2 separate regions of the Homo sapiens genome follow, and region 1 is linked to region 2. The links are contacts of gene promoters, found by promoter capture Hi-C in human tissues and cell types (Jung and others, 2019). All regions are on one chromosome and are shown on one strand. The core of a region is centred on a gene start or on the middle of the fragment in contact, and the rest is flanking DNA. Distances in the headings are between cores, read along the strand shown.

Region 1 (4,246 bases), core at 569-3,068, 46 kb after region 2:
CATTTAAATTTAATATGCAGTAGAATCCAAGTAAATGTTACTTTTCTTATTCTACATTATATGTTTACATATGACATTCATTTCTGTAAGATGTAACTCACAGCACTAGTATAGTACTTAAGAGATGGAGGTAATTTCTTCATGTCACACATACTTGCTGAAATTGTTAGGGAGTGTTCATATGATTGACTCCGTGGATGTCTTTTTTCCTTAGCTGCCATTACTACTCTACTTCTTTCAAGTTTACTCACCTCTGCCGAAATGTGGTTGAGAAATGGAATGCAGTCATCTTTTACCTTTGGAGGCTTCTCTGCTAATGAGCACAAAAGAACAGAGTCTAACAAAAATATGGGAATATTATATGAATTTCAAAAACTTTTCTAAGTAGTAGCTGGTCAGAAATTTATGCATCTGTTTCTTAGCTATTACTGGGGAAACTCTTTTTAGATGATTTTTCTTAGATGTTATGTGGATGATCAGATTGCTCAACTCCATTATAATTTGTTTCCAAACTAATCTGTTCAGGCAAGATAAAGATATAAATGTGGATTGTTGCTGAGGTTAAGTCTGGTCAGATTTTTCCACTTATGCTTGAAAAGTAACCATATTTCAATCAAATATATAATATGTATATTTCATAATAATATAAGCAATATTAGTCTCATTATTAATTCAAAAATCTCATCTATATTTCAACACTGTAGAACATTATTAAATGAATAAATGACCTATAAATATTTGGTGCCTGAAGAAGTCACTTTGCTATTAATTATACGAATAGAGTATGGAAATTTATACTTTTAAATTTTTCTCTAAACTTTGACTCATTTATTATTGTACTTGGTAAATGAGTTTCCACGGGCTCAGGGAGATGAATTACTGTCTTAGAATAAATTTGTATGAATGTTGAGGCTACACCCAGGTAACCTAATTCCTAATAGGTTATATGCCATGTATCAGGAAAGGTATTGCCTGTTTATATGATGGACATGTTATAAAAGTTTTAAAAGTTTGAATATAATAATTTATAATAAAGTTTAAAGGCCTTGTCTCTGAATAGAGTCTCATTTTTTCATTTATTTCTTTTGTCTAGTTATCTGTTGTCTTCTGGCATTTTGTATTGGCCTGATATTTGTGCAACGCTCTGGAAATTACTTTGTTACAATGTTTGATGATTATTCTGCTACACTGCCTCTGCTAATTGTAGTCATTTTGGAGAATATTGCTGTATGCTTTGTTTATGGCATAGATAAGTAAGTATATTTGCTTTTATGTATTCACTTTTAATCTCTAGTTTGAAAACATCAATTATCAATGTTCATTTCATTTAGAAGAGGAAATAAATGAATAGAGGGAACAATTCTTTAAAAAATCAAACCTTTTGCAGGCTCTCACTGATTCAACAGTTTTGGTAAATTACATTTCCCTGTTGGGCAAATAGAATTATATAGGATGTAATAGTATGTAGAATTTTAGATCTTTGATTTGGTCCTGGTTATCAAATAGCTAACTTTCAGGATTTAGTAAGTATTGGCAGAGTTCCAAGAACCTTAGTTTCTTTTGAGTTCTTTATTGTTATCTACATTTCACAGATAAGGAAAATCAAGCTTAGAGAGACACCCTGTGACTTGCCTGTCACCCACCTGGACAGCAGCAGACCTGGGACTCATGTCCATTTCTGTTTAACTCTAAAGCTTATCTCCTAATTATATTGCTAAATTGATTTATAAGAGGAGTGCATGTGTCATAATGCCTTATATAGCAGGACAATATTGGGAAATGATATTTTCCCAGGTCTGAGATGTATATGTCATTTGCTGCACAGAAACATTATTTTTATATAGAGTCATTACTTAAATTCACTATACGCATAAATAATGAATAAATTCACTATTTATTCATAAATTCATATCAAATACACATACTTTTCACACCATTCAGGTACACTGATGTGAAAAGTGTATGTATTTGAAATGATGTGAAGCACCAGAGTTCTCTCAAGGGAAAAAGACCTTTGGAGGATTTGTCCAATACTTTTTATAGTCACTGTCTCTAATCACATACATGGACTGAGAGGTAGTAAGATCACCAAGCTCATTACAGCCCTATGTAAAGTAGTAATGCATGCACCTTAAGTGAAGGCCAGAGTCCTTTTAAGCAGCATAAAGAATATTGTGGGTATTGAATGAGCTTTATAACAAAGCTTAGAGAATGTTTTTTGTGGTTGCCAAAAGCTCCAGGTCAGGAAGCTTAGGAGAACTTACATTTAATAATCATGTACTGTATAATAATAGTAGTAATAGCTCTTAGTGTATAATCCAGCAATCATGCTACTTGGTATTTACCCAAAGGAGTTGAAAACTTATGCCCACTTAAAATTCTGCACGTGGGTGTTTATAGCAACTATATTCATAATTGCCCAAACTTGGAGGCAAACAAGATATCCTTTAGTAGGTAAATGGATAAATTGTCATACATCCAGACAATGAAATATTATTCAATCCATGAAAAGACACAGAGGAAATTTTAATGCACATTACTTAGTGAAAAAAGTCACATATGAAAAGGTTACATATTGTAAGATTCCCCTATATTATAATATGGAAAAGGTAAAACTATGGAAACAGTAAAAACATCAGCAGTTAACAGGGGTTGGGCCAGATCCAGGGATGTATACGCTGAGCACAGAATGTTTAGGGCAGTGAAACTACTCTGTATGACACTGTAATGGTGGACACACGTCATTATACATTTGTCCAAATCCAGAGAATGTACTACACAAACAGTGAATTCCAGTGTAAACTGTGGGCTCTAGGTAATAATGATGTGTTAACTTATGTAGGTTCATCAATTGTAACCAACATTCCACTCTCGTGGGGGTTGCTGATAATGGAGGAGGTTATGCACATATATTGGTAGGAGCTATATGGGAAATCTCTCTACTTTCAGCTCAATTTTGCTGTGAACCTAAAATTGCTCTTAAAAAATAAAGTGTGTAATCAAAAAATACTCCTTGTTAACTAACATGATCCATATCTTACAGATGGGAAACTGCCCCTTCTTTTACAGGAGGATACAATATGTTAGCTGTAGAGCCAGTACTGTAACCTTGACCTTCATTTCAAGGCCAGGTTTCTCTAAGCTTTACTAGGCTACTCAAAACTCATAACCTGTACCATGATGGAATTTGATATTGTTTTTGGACTGATCTGTAAATAAATACATTTGTAATTTAGATTTCCATTTAGACAGTTCGTTATTCATGATAGACTTACTAAAGAATCTCTCTTTTTAATGCTAGTGTTCCTGAATAACACTATTTATAACAACAGAAGAAAAAATACTACTACTAATAGATGCATCTGTCGATTTTGTACCATATGTGAGGTAGTATGCTAAGCATCCATTGTTTATGGTTCTAGTAATAACCCTCAAAGGTGGGTATTATATTATATTTTTGGAAAACACCAAAAATGAAGCTTAGAGAGATTAAGATATACATCAAAAGAACACAGAACTGTGATCTGAAATGAGGTCTCTTGGTCTTCAAAGTTCATATTTTTTCTAAAGGGCAGGTGTAGAATTCTTACATTGAAGATGTCCTTTAAGATTCTGGAGCAACTTGGAAGAAATGAAAAAGGGAAGAGAAACATAGAGATTAAGACTGGGCCAGGTGTGGTGGCTCAAGCCTGTAATCCCAACACTTTGGGAGGTCAAGGTGGGCAGATCACTTGAGGTCAGGAGATCGAGAGCAGTCTGACCAACATGGTGAAACGCCATCTCTACTAAAAATACAAAAATCAGCCGGGCGTGATGGTGGTCGCCTGTAATCCCAGCTACTCGGGAGGCTGAGGCAGGAGAATTGCTTGAACCTGGGAAGATGAGGTTGCAGTGAGTCGAGATTGTGCCACTGTACTCCAGCCTGGGCAACAGGTGAGACTCTGTCTCAAAAAAAAAAAAAAAAAAGAAAGAAAGAATGGACTCAAGAGACATAACAATTCATAACAATTAGTTATTATATGTAGACCTTTTTAGAAATTCGGAATGTAAAAAGAAGAGTTCAGAAAATATAACATTGATTAGGTATATTTGATGATATTAAGGAATTATTATTATGCTTTTAATGCTGTGATATTAAGGAATTATTACTTTTACTAATTATTACTAAAGTAATAGTAAAATTATTAGGAAAAGTAGTAATTAGTAAAATTATTTACTAATAAGTAATTATTACTAAAAGTAATAA
Region 2 (4,293 bases), core at 1,288-3,787:
AAGTGATTTAGATAGGGCAGGTTTTTATTTTTACAATATCTAACAGATGCCTTTTGACGGTATGACCTTGGACAATCAAAGCTTCAGTTTCTTTTCTGGCAATGTTTTGTAAAAACTAGACCTACATCACAGGCTTGGTGTAAGAATTAAGAAGTATATATTCATAAAATATAGAAATTATTCTGTACATTGCAAAGACACATAGTTAACATTAATCAATCCTTGTTAATATTATTAAATACAGTGTGGCTGGAAGCACTAGTCTCCCTTAACTTGTAGTTAATTCTTCCAAGTTCTGTTTTTTTCCTTTCTGTGTGCTGCCTCTTCCTCCCACACCAATCCCATGTTGGCCATTTTGCCCTATGGTGACAGAGAAAGAACTCTGTAATCATTACCCTAAAATATATTAGCAATTGAATTTTAAATCTTTGAAGACTCATTGTTGTTAAATTTTAAAAATGAATACATTTTACCTTTGGCTAGGGTTCCCAGACTCTCCTTTTGAGGTCTCTCCATTCTTCATCTATTTATTGTTTTCAAAGTTGCCTACCACTTGTGTTGAGATTCCACCCTTTCCTCCTGTTAAAATAGATAATTTGTTAAAGGGTTACAGGATAGTATAAAAGCACATGAAGTTTGAGGCCAGCATATCTGAATTTATTTCTCCATTCTGTCATTGAACAAGTTTTCTGACTTTTTGCAATTTTTTTTGAGTATCACCTCTCTCTAATCTCTAAATTAGGAAAAATCACCTCATTAATTAGTTGAGAGGATTAAATAAGATATTATTAAGCCCCAGGTACTTAGTGGGAAGCTTAAAACAATAGTTGCTTTCTCCTACTTCTCTTCATTGGCATTGAGACATAAATTAGTATCAGTCATTATGGAGGGCATCGCTCTACAAATATTTTGTGACCTATGCATATGTATTGGAATTAGGTATCAGACACTAGTGAAAAAGCGTGGGAGAGAAATAATTTTCGTACTTCTTGGTACTACCGTAAACGATTTCTGCCAGCATATGGATAACTTTGTTTCCCACAGATAATCCTAATCCTGATCATGGTGGACACAGCTCTCCTTATTTTCCTAAAATTTTCTCAGTTGTTATTGATAATGTTGGTACTGTATTTCAGTTTCTTTATATATCAACATTAAATATTTGCCTGTCACCAAAATGTGAAGTAAAAAGCAAAAAAAGTCCTATAAAAGGTTTATTTTGACTGTTTTTATTTTTTCACGTGGCGCATCTATCAAAGAGCATTTATTTACTCATGGCAGGGGAGGCGTATCAGGGAATCAAATCTAATTTAATTTCTTAACTTTTAATTTTTCAAAGTTGGGATTGGAAGAGAGGCTGAGAAAAAACTCTCTTGGCTGTTTTAAAAGCTAAGGATTAGTAGCAATGTTCTGACCTGAAATTTAGGTCTTGTGATTTCTTTCCAAGAGATTTTTCACTGCATGAAAAACCTGTTTGCAATGGCCTTTTTAATTTAATTCAATCTTAATTGGATACGAACCGTAAAAATCTAAGGGATTGTTAAAAGGCCTAAAAGTGCACAAAAGTAGTTTTTAAGAGTAATATTAATAATCTGGAAGTGAAAAATTAACTTTGCTAAATTACTGAACCTTTCTACCTAGCTTCTAGGTTCATTTTGTATTTCTTTCAAATTTTGAACGTTTCAAGGACGGAAAATTTCATCCTTAGAGCATACGCACTGTTTAGGGGACGGTTCAGCCATTTTCAAAAGGAGGCTAAGCTTTGTGTTCAGAGGTGTATATTTTAGGAATTCTCCACGTGGCTTAATTACGAGCATGCCTTGATTGTTAGCAGAGGTAAGTCAGGCTTCATCTTGTAATGAGACCCCTTGGAAAAAAGTCTGCTGCTGAGGCACCAACACAGGGTGGGTGAGGGCCAGCTTTCTAAAACGGCCTTTCATAACCTGGCGAGAATCACTGAGCGCTATGAGGCCACCGCCTGACGGAGAAGCCAATGCCCAGAGGCTTTTTCTTTCGCAAGAGATGTAAATGGCCGGCTTGGGGGAATAGGTAGGGAAAAGGGTTCTTTGGGTCACCCATTTTTTCTAGTCCCATTACTGACTCTTGGAGAATATTCAGATGGTGCCAGGTAGCACCATGCCTATTATTATTCTCACTGAGACAAAAGTCAGCGGCTGGTAACTGGTGTCCATTCTTTCGCTTGAGTGGGTTGGAGAAAGACGGCATGGCTGGAGGAATTTGTTTTGTTTTGCTTTGGAGCGGGCTTCCTCAGTTGCATCCTGCATCGGGCGGGCACAGCCCCGGGCTCTGGGAAGACGCCGCTCGGCAGCCGCAGTGGCCGCTGCATCAATGGGTTTTGGGGCAGGGAGGTGCGGAGCCCAGCCTGCGCTCCTGGCTACCCCTCCGCGCCCCGCCGCCGCCCACAGCCTACCCTTCTCCTCTGCAGCCGGTAGGCGGCCGTAACACGGGCGGGCCGAGCACGTGGGCGCCTCCGTCACACCCTCACACATACACACACGCGCGCGCGCACACACACATACGCATGTACACGCGCACCCGCACCCGCGCGCCTGTATCCCGTGCTGTTTCCCTGGCAGACACACAGGCGCTCACGAGTCTCTCCTTGCCAGCCTGCAGGGCGGCGACCCCCAAAACCCAGCTCCGGGTCCCAACCTAGGCAAGAAGCTGCTTCTCTGCCAACAGCTCCTCTTCGGCCTCCGTCACAGCCACCTGGACCCTACCCTTTCGCGACTGCTGCTGCTGCTGCCCGGACGTGGAAGCAGCAAGAGGCGCTTGGTCAAGACACACTGACGGTAATGGCAAGCGCCTACGCTAAGGGCACAACTGGGGGTGAGGTGGGGCTCGCCATTAGCCACCCAGGAGCCTGGGCACCAGCACCGGGAACGAATTGATGGATGGATGCCGGGAAGGACTCGCTGCGTCCTGGGGTGGGAGGAGGGAGGGCAGCTCAAAAGCCCTGGGAGGGAGAAGCTGGGCTGGGCGGGCAACCGTCTAACTCTGCATCTCTGTACAATCAGGGTGGGGGGCGACAGGCTGCACATGTAAGGGGAAGCACATGGGTTGAAACGTGCCGCCATCCTTTCTTCCCGTCGTGGAAATTGCCCACAGCATCCCCAGAGACCTACTCGTTTCCAAGCCAAGTCGGGGTTGGTTGAAGGGTGGGGTCCAACACGGGAAAGTCCAAGAGGAAAGTTGGGAGGGTTGGGGCAGAGAGAGACGCGAGGTGAATTGGAAGCTAAACCTCGTGCAGGTGGGCGATGGGGCGGGGAGAGCAGAGAGCTTTATTCCTCATTCGCTTCCGTTCGCTTTAGCAAAGGCAGAAGGCGACTACCGAGGACAGAGTGTTTTCACGTGACCACAGTTCCCCTTTGCTTGAGGTATCCTGTGATAAATGGCCCGAAAGGGGGCCTTTCGCCGTACGAAAGGCACGTGGCTGCTGGAGAAATCACGGCTCCTGTGTTTCTGCGCATCCTGGAATTTGAGAGTGTGGCGGTGAGGGTGGTGCTGCTGGGACTGTAAGAAGATGGGAAGCAGTTAGAAACCCAGATCGTTTCTACCTTTCTTTCACTAGGCTGGTCTGTGTGTGACTGGGAAGAAGACGGTATTGAGTACAGGGAAATCCTTGCACTCTAACGTAGCGCACCAACTGGATACATAAGAATGAATCAAGACGCCCGAGGCGTTCGGGAACAGGCATGACCCACCCAGTGGCACAGGCTGCGGGAACGGGAATTATTTTTCCTGAGCTGAGAAGCAGCCTTTGATGTGCGTTTTAGGAAGCAAAGCCCCCAGGCTCGCGCTCTCCAGCGTCCCGCTTTCCCTTTCCATCCTCCTCCCTAGCTGGGAAAGGCTGGAGTAAGACGGGGCGGGGTCCGGACTCCGGCGCAGTGACGTAAGCAGTGTTTGGGTGCTTATGCAAATAAGTCTGCGACGGTTTCTTCTGGTCTTGCCGTTTTCCCCTCCAGATCTTATAGGTAGACCCAATCTTAGTCTGCACCATCCTTGCGGTTCACTACTTAAGACGTATGGGAGAAATGAAGGATTTGCTTTATATGCTGCTTTGGGGCTCCTCATCGCCCATGCTGTAAAAGCTATTTTCTACCTGTCAATGCCTGATTGCTTTTCTGCTGTGCCAGCAACAAAGTGTTTGTTTTGAGGAATTATTATGTGCAGACACAGCCCCAACAAGCCCCTCACCCACCCAACCTCATTTCTGCAAGATCATTGCTGAAACACAGACCTATTTATGTCTTAGGCGCCCAGTACTGGGCT

What was found. Contacts are between HindIII fragments. The study calls those that stand out against the background at their distance.
Region 1: a contact is called between a fragment that was not itself captured here and the fragment with the promoter of SLC6A15 in region 2, in 1 of the 25 tissues and cell types used here (bladder).

The regions. Positions count from the first base shown.
Region 1 is chr12:84,864,041-84,868,286 of GRCh38, reverse strand. It overlaps SLC6A15 (solute carrier family 6 member 15), which reads left to right. Exons shown (of 12, transcript NM_182767.6): 10 at 1,094-1,253. Among named protein-coding and RNA genes, the nearest start is that of SLC6A15, 47 kb to the left of the region's middle. The HindIII fragment of the contact is 4,739 bases long and covers 1-4,187 here.
Region 2 is chr12:84,911,043-84,915,335 of GRCh38, reverse strand. SLC6A15 (solute carrier family 6 member 15) reads left to right here and starts at 2,537. Exons shown (of 12, transcript NM_182767.6): 1 at 2,537-2,813. LOC102724680 (a long non-coding RNA gene) reads right to left here and starts at 2,499. Exons shown (of 4, transcript XR_945154.3): 1 at 2,432-2,499; 2 at 474-579. RefSeq lists enhancers at 1,776-2,322, 2,323-2,870, 3,419-3,967. The HindIII fragment of the contact is 2,941 bases long and covers 449-3,389 here.